2 separate regions of the Homo sapiens genome follow, and region 1 is linked to region 2. The links are contacts of gene promoters, found by promoter capture Hi-C in blood cells and fetal thymus (Javierre and others, 2016). All regions are on one chromosome and are shown on one strand. Each heading gives the region's core, a stretch centred on a gene start or on the middle of the fragment in contact. The rest is flanking DNA. Distances are from core to core; before and after follow the strand shown. Region 1 holds the start of SLC38A5 (solute carrier family 38 member 5). Region 2 holds the start of ZNF157 (zinc finger protein 157).

Region 1 (3,724 bases), core at 1-2,500, 1.1 Mb after region 2:
CTCAGAAACCCCCATTCAAGGTCCCCATTAGAGCTCAAACTGGCTCAGGAAATCCTTTTCCCAAGTCCTGAATCCCGTTCCTGGGACAGGGAGGGTCTCAAGGAGTCCCATCCCCCACCACCAGCACCCTCCGGAGCCTCCCACCCACACCTGAATTCACTTCCTGGGATCAGGGTACAAAAAGGACCTCCCCATACACGCCATTCCATTCCCCACTAGTGCTAAAATGTCTCCAAGGAACCCCGAGCCCCCTCCCAGGACCCCTACTCATATCTCAGGCCCCCAGGAACACCATCCCCGCAGCCCACGCTCCCTCCTCACCTACCTGCTCCTCTCAGCTCCTGAAGTGGCCGCAACTCAGACTCAGGTTCGGGCACCCTCTCGGCTGCCTAGGCTCCTGCTCTGGAGCGGTACTTTTTTTTTTTTCCTGAGAAGAAATGTTAATTTTAATTTCGTTTCCCTCCTTCTGGCCCTGGGCGGGGGAAGAGGTGGAGAAGGGGCGCCCCCTATCTGGACCCACTTGGAGGGAGACAGCGGTTTGTTTGTGTGTTGATGGTGGGGGAAATGGCCTGAAAGATTGAGGGTGTAGACCCACAGCTAGAGAGAGTGACAGGCAGACAGAGGGGATGGACTCACAGAGCAGACGGACAGCAGGATGGGATGGATGGCAGAAAAAGGTGCAGAGAGGAGACAGAGAGAGAGTAGGAGAACTGAAGTTACAAAGAAAGCAGGCATGAGAAACAGCACAGGAACAGACAGACCACAGAAGGGACAGAAAGACAGATGGGCGGGAGGAGGGGATGCTAGGGGAGCTTGGAAGACAGGCAGAGACAGGGAGAAAGGGACACACAGGCAGACTCAGAAACAAACAGGTGGGTAGGGATAGGCTCGTGGAAACACCTGCAGAAAGGCAACAGGCAATTGGGCTCAGTCATAGACAGGAGACACAGGCTGGCCAAGAGGTGGGGGACAGAGCCAGACAGCTCCCCAAACAGAGGGTAGGACCAGACACACCAGCTCAGAGAGATGAAGGGGCAGAGAGAGTGGTTGAGGCAGAGAGACTCCTGGAGGGACAGGAGAAAAGAGGCAGAGAGAGGCAGATTCAGGCAGAGAGGCCTGGGGACAGCAGGGGAACAGGTGCAGGGGTAGTAGCCAGGCTATTCCAGGCAGACCTCAGGCAGACAGCCTAGGCACGAGAGGACCCTAGATCTTGGGGGCCCCCAGAGGGAGGCAGGGAGGGCATTTGTGGCTGGGTGGGGAATGTGGACTGTGAACTCACACTGTCCGCAAACTGGGCGGGCACTGTAGTCCTGGACCCCACCCCAAGCGTGGGGTGGGGCTTGTCCAAGCCCTGAGAAGTCCCACTATCTGTCTGTCCGTCTGTCTTCTATGGGAGTCCGTCTGTTCACTCCCCTCCAGGCATATGACAGGCATGCCTGTCCCAGGCAAGCCACGTGTCCGCTACAGGATGTCAGGCAGGGTGGACTTGGGGTCTGGGACCACCTCGACTGGGCTGCTTGAAGCCCAGGTGGACAAGAGGCCTCTGTCTGGGCCCCTCGCCCGCCTGCCCACCCCCGACAGGGAACACAGAATTCCCGGAAAGGCCAGGAGCTGGCTGGGGCTTCAAAGCTGGCCTAGATGCCCTCACCCCACCCACAGTTGGAGGAGGACAAGGGATGGGGCGTTTACTTCCCCACAGCGGGAGAGAGACTCCTGCACACTCAGGAATCGCAGCTACACAACAGGACCCATCACAGCCCCATCAAGGGGCTCAGATACGGGGGCCAACTCGCCATCACTCACAGAGGTGCACAAAGACTCACAGCCACACAAGAGAATAAAGACTGACAGACATGAACACACACAGACTCACCACTGCACGTTAAGAGCAATGGCTCATGGGACAGTCACACACGTGGCCACACAGAGTGACGATAGTCTTACAGCTATCAATACCGACAGGCTCAGAGCCGCTCACAGAGAGCACAGACTAACACAGGGATAGGCTTGTGCCGATTTCCAGACACTCGAGACTCCTGAACCTCACCGCCCGTGGACCCACAGCCATGCCAAAGACAATCAACAGGCAAATCACACACACAGATTCACAGCCACACACAGAGCACACAATTACACACAGCTGATGACATTGTGTGTGGGTCCTGGGTCTTTCCCACACACACGATCCAGGTTCAGATGGCCCTGGATCTGAACCTGAATCCAGGTTCAGATGACCCTGGAGGCAAACTTCCAGGTTCAAGCCCTAAAATGATATCTCTGTGTATGTGAACTTGAATGTGCACTTGTGACCACATGTAACCACATACAGCTCCAGTCACAGAGAGAGGCACTCATAGGCTGACATGATTTTTGTACAAACAGAAAAGCCATAGTCTCCTTCTCTCTCTCTCTCCTCTCTCTCTCTCTCTCACACACACACACACACACAACTGCATTTCAGCAAATGGCTGCACACAGCCGTGTACACACACAGCTAGTCACAAATCAAGTCAGAAAAGAAACATATAGGGAAAGCATATACCTGCACACAAACACAAAGCACAGGAATGCAGAGTACGCTTACTATCGTTGCAAAGAAAAAATCCAGAAACCACACTGAAAGCTACACAAGGAAAAAACAAGAGAACCAGATAGTACTCATACCATGGCACCAGAAGAAACACCCCGAGGGCACACATACCTGCAGCCACTCGCTAAGAAGAGACACAAATACAGCAGCAGACACACAAAGAAAGATACGTGCGCATAGATACACATATAGGAGGGACAAGTACTCTGACACACTTGTCACCCACGACCATTACAAAGGAGACAAACACCCAAGCAACACACACACACAACAACATATAGATGAACTGCACCGACAGACAGTACCAATGCACACGGTTGCCAAAAAAAAAAAAAAAAAAAAGGTATGAGTTGGGCCGGGTGCAGTGGTTCATGCCTGTAATCCCAGCACTTTGGGAGGCCAAGGTGAGTGAATCATGAGGTCAGTAGTTCGAGACCAGCCTGGCCAACGTGGCGAAACCCCGTCTCTACTAAAAATACAAAAAAAATTAGCTGGGCGTGGTGGCGGGTTCCTGTAATCCCAGCTACTCGGGAGGCTGAGGCAAGAGAATTGCTTGAACCTGGAAGGCGGAGGTTGCAGTGAGCCAAGATCGCGCCACTGCACTCCGGCCCAAGCGACAGAGTGAGACTCCATCTCAAAAAAAAAAAAAAAAAAAAGCACAAGTTTGGCAGGCGGCCATAGACAGAACGCAGCACCAGGCAAGTTACATAGGAAGACGCAGGCACAGCTCACATACGTGTGGCTGTGGCTGAGAACGGGCAGGTGAGATACACTCAGCATATTCACACACACGTGCGCACACACTCCTGCCCAACCTCCTCCAGCCTCTGTCTCCTTTCCTATCTACTCTGATTTCTCTCTCCCCTCATACCCCTCCCCCACCCAGAGCCATTACACATCTGTGCTACCAGCTGGCCAGGGAAAGAGACACCTGTCACTAGAGGCTTTGACCCAGATGGCTAAAGGTCGGGGGGTGGGGGGGATGCAGGTATCCATATTTCAAGTCTGAAGTGTCCCGTCCAAATAACTAGCATACTTTATTTGGATTTAAAAAAAAAAAAAAAAGACAACCCCCCTCCCCTCTGCATCCATTCGCCGCCTCCCTGCCACAGCCTCCTGCTCTGATTGCTCCCC
Region 2 (4,539 bases), core at 1,068-3,567:
TGTAATTTTACCTTGTATCCAGCCCCTTACATTATATTATACCCTATTAATTTTAGTAGTCTTTTAGCAGTCTGGTAGGTTTTCCATGTATAAAATCATCTTATTGGATAGAAAGCTACATTTTCGTTTTCATTTCTTCCCAATGTTCATGTTCACCCTAATTATTATTTTCTTTTTTCTTTCTGCCTTTTTTTCTTTTTCTTTTTCTTTTTTTTTTTTTTTGTTTTGTTTTGTTTTGTTTTTGGGGTGGAGTCTTGCTCTGTCACCCAGGCTGAAGTGCAGTGGCGTGATCTCGGCTCACTGCAGTCTCTGCCTCCCGAGTTCAAGCAATTTTCCTGCCTCAGCCTCCTGAGTAGCTGGGATTACAGGTGTGTGCCACCATGTCCAGCTAATTTTTGTGTTTTTAGTAGACACGGGGTTTCACCATCGTCTTGAACTCCTGACCTGCTGACCTCAGGTGATCAGCCTGCCTTGGCCTACCAAAGTGCTGGGATTACAGGCGTGAGCCGCCTCCTCTGGCCTCTTTTTTTTTTCTTTAATAGAAACAAAGTGTCACTCTGTCATCCAGGCTGGAGTGTAGTGGAGTGATCTCAATGCACTGCAACTCTGTGTGTGTGTTTTTGTTTGTTTGTTTGTTTTTTAAGGATACTGGGTTTTGCCATGTTGTCCAGGTTAGTTTTGAACACCTGGGCTCAAGGGATCCTCTTGCTTTGGCCTCCCAAAGTGTTGGGATTAAAGCCGTGAGCCACTGCACCTGGCCTGATTATTTATTTCTTTTCTCTTCTTTTCTCCTTTCTTCCCTCCTTCCTTCCTTCCTTCCTTCCATCCTTCCTTCCTCTCTTTCTTTCTTTCTTTCTTTCTTTCTTTCTTTCTTTCTTTCTTTCTTTCTTTCTTTCTTTCTCTCTTTCTCTCTTTCTTTTTCTTTCTCTTTTAGAGACAAAGTCTTGCTCTGTCACCCAGGCTGGAGTGCAGTGGCGCCATCAGAGGTCACTGCAGCCTCAACCTCTCAGGCTTCTTAAGCTATCCTTCTGCTTCAGCTTCCTTAGTAGCTGGCACTACAGGTGTGGACCACCACACTCGGATTATTTTATTTCTTGTAAAGACAGCGTCTCACTTTGTTGCCAAGGCTGGTTTCGAACTCCTGGACTCAAGCAACCCTCCTGTCTTGGCCTCCCAAAGTTCTGAGATTACAGGCATGAGCCACTGTGCCCAGCCCACTCTATTTCATCTTCTCTTGTGTGAGCTAGAGCCCACAAAACAATTTTGGGTTATAGCAGACAGTACTAATTTTGTGGCAATAGCTTCATCATTTTACTTTTTAGCATGGTGTTTCAGAGTTATGTTTCATAATTGATTTTTGTGGCACTTAAGTTATTTACTTTTTCCATGATTTTAGTTTGAGCTTATATTAGTAATGGCTGCTGAATTGCGTTGGATGCTTTTTTGGTGTAAGTTAACAGCAGAGTGTTTCCCTCTGTAATTTGTTGATGTAATACATAACATTAGGCCTGGTGCAGTGGCTCACACCTGTAATCCCAGCACTTTGGGAGGCCAAGGCGGGAGGATCACTTGAGGTCAGGAGTTCGAGACCAGCCTGACCAACATAGTGAAAACCCGTCTCTACTAAAAATACAAACATTAGCTGGGCGTGGTGGCGGGCGCCTGTAATCCCAGCCACTAGGGAGGCTGAGGCAGGAGAATCCCTTGAACCTGGGAGGCGGAGGTTGCTGTGAGCTGAGATCGCACCATTCCACTGCAGCCTGGGTGACAAGAGTGAAACTCCATCTCAAAAAAAAAAAAAAAAAAAAGAAAAAATACATAACATTATTAAGATTGAACCATTTTTTTCTGGAAAGAAGAGGCTAAAAGCTTCCCAGTAAAAGAATTTAAGAGGGATATTTCATCTAAGAGTGGAAAAAAACAAAAGACGGCAGAAGAAAGGACCAGCCGATTTCCTTTCATTTAGATTATCAGCTTTCCAGGTTTCCTGCCCTCACAGTCACCCACCAGGTCCCCTTGAACCTGCCCACCCCATGGGCCTTAAGCACCCTTAAGCACTGCCCCAGTTCTACTTCTCCTAAACCCAGATCTGCCTTGAACTTGAACTGAGGTGTAGGCTGGCTGAGTAGCGAGTGAAGCACCTGGTAGAGCCACTCAAGAAGGGACCCCAAGCTCATTAATTTGGCCCCAAATTTGATCATTTTGTAATCCACCTTGACTCATGCTCTGGGGATGCTGAACATTGTGGCGTGAATGTGGGATGACACTGATGATATGGATACTGTCCTTTTAGGATTTCTTGGTGTCTCTGTGGAGCCATTGAGCCTTACCCCTTACTGGAGGCTGCAGGACCCTCTACACACAGACAGCTGTCCAGCACGGAAGGTGGGCTGAGGCCCAGGGTGAACATGCCAGCTAATGGGACATCACCCCAGAGATTCCCTGCCCTGATTCCAGGAGAACCTGGCAGATCTTTTGAGGTAAGGAGGAGGATCCTATTTTTTTCTATATGTTCTTTATTTTTTTATTTATTTTTAGTTAAATTTATATTTTGAGATAATTGTAGATTCAAATGCAATGTACCATTTACCTAGTTTTTGTCCCCAGTAGTAACATCTCGTAATACCCAGGATATTGACATGCAGAGCATTTCCATCCCCACAAGGATCCCCCATGTTGTCATTAAATAGACACAACCACTTCACTTCCTCCATCACTCCCCTCTTAACCCTGGGGCACCACCAATCTGTTCTCCAATACTATAATTTTTTCATTTCAAGAATGTTGTGGCTGGACGTGGTGGCTCACGCCTGTCACCTGTAATCCCAGCACTTTGGGAGGCCGAGGCGGGTGGATCACTTGCGGCCAGGAGTTTGAGACCAGCCTGGCCAACATAGTGAAACCCTGTTTGTACTAAAAATACAAAAATTAACCAGGTGTTGTGGCACGCACCTGTACTCCCAGCTACTCGGGAGGTTGAGACCGGAAAATCGCTTGAACCTGGAGGCGGAGGTTGCAGTAAGCCAAGATCGTGCCACTGCACTCTGCCTGGGTGACAGAGTGAGACCCTGTCTCAAAAAAAAAAAAAAGTTTTATTTGCCGGGCATGGCAGCTCATGCCTGTAATCCCAGCTCTTAGGGAGGCAGAAGCAGGAGGATAGTTTGAGCCTAGGAGTTTGAGACCTGCCTGGGCAATATAGTGAGACCCTGTTCTCCACAAAAAGGAAAAAAAGGACAAAAAAGAGAGACTGTTATATTAATCAGATTGTACAGTATGTACCTTTTGGGACTGGCTTTCGTCATTCAGCAAAATTCTGTGGAGATATCAATAGCTAACAGTATATCAATAGTTCATTCATTTTTTTTGAGACAGAGTCTTGCCCTGTCACCCAGGCTGGACTGCAATGGCGTGATCTTGGCTCACTGCAACCTCTGCTTCCCGGGTTCAAGCTATTCTCCTGCCTCAGCCTCCCGAGTAGCTGGTATTACAAGTGCGTGCCACCACACCTGGCTAATTTTTTGTATCTTTAGTAGAGACGGGGTTTCACCATGTTGGCCAGGCTGGTCTTGAACTCCTGACCTCGTGATCCACCTGCCTCAGCCTCCCAAAGTGCTGGGATTACAGGCGTAAGCCACCGTGCCCTGCCCATTCCTTTTATTGCTGATACTTTTCCATCGCATGGATGTACCAAACAGTATAACCATTCACTGGTTGAAAGACATCTTGGTTGTTTCTAGTTGTTGGATATTATGAATAAAGATCCTATAATAGTTTGTGTAAGGTTTTTGTAGGGGTGTGATACTGTGAAATATATAATTGGTCTTTCCTGGCAAACAACTCCTAATATCCTCGGAATCTCTAAAGTACTAAAGTGTCTTTTTGTATGCTAATGAGTTGACTGATGCCTGGCAGTCCCTAGGCAGCTTCCGAATGGGGCTGGTCACCAGAAAGACTAAGGTAGGTTTAGAGGGTTGGGACCCTCCAACCACCTGGGAGGGGAGAGGGTGCTGAGAGTCAAGTCGATCCACAAGGGCAAATGATTTAATCAATCATGCCTACATAATGAAGCCCCCCTAAAGCCCCAAAAGGATAAAGTCTGGAGAGCTTCTGGGTAGCCGAACACATGGGGGTTCCTGGAGGGTGGTGCACCCAGAGAGCGCATGAAGACTCCAGGCCCCTTCCCACATGCCTTGCCCTATGTATCTCTTTATTTGGCTGTGATTTATTTGTATTCTTTTTTTTTTTTTTTTTGAGATGGAGTTTCGCTCTTGTTGCACAGGCTGGAGTGCAATGGCGTGATCTTGGCTCACTGCAAACTCCACCTCCTGGATTCAAGTGATTCTCCTGCCTCAGCCTCCCAAGTAGCTGGGATCACAGGCATATGCCACCACGCCCAGCTAATTTTGTATTTTTAGTAGAGATGAGGTTTCTCCATGTTGGTCAGGCTGGTCTCAAACTCCCGACCTCAGGTGATCCACCTGCCTTGGCCTCCAAAAGTGCTGGGATTACTGGTGTGAGCCACCATGCCCGGCCTGAATT

Evidence for each region. The method cuts DNA at HindIII sites, captures the fragments that hold promoters and counts their contacts. A CHiCAGO score of 5 or more calls a contact.
Region 1: a contact is called between the fragment with the promoter of SLC38A5 here and the fragment with the promoter of ZNF157 in region 2, in 2 of 17 cell types (neutrophils and monocytes). The highest score is 5.8, in neutrophils.

What each region holds. Positions count from the first base shown.
Region 1 is chrX:48,469,010-48,472,733 of GRCh38, forward strand. SLC38A5 (solute carrier family 38 member 5) reads right to left here and starts at 1,251. Exons shown (of 17, transcript NM_033518.4): 1 at 1,173-1,251; 2 at 326-427. The HindIII fragment of the contact is 10,592 bases long and covers 1-3,724 here.
Region 2 is chrX:47,368,261-47,372,799 of GRCh38, forward strand. It overlaps ZNF157 (zinc finger protein 157), which reads left to right and starts at 2,318. Exons shown (of 4, transcript NM_003446.4): 1 at 2,318-2,480. The coding sequence starts at 2,409. The HindIII fragment of the contact is 3,930 bases long and covers 1,868-4,539 here.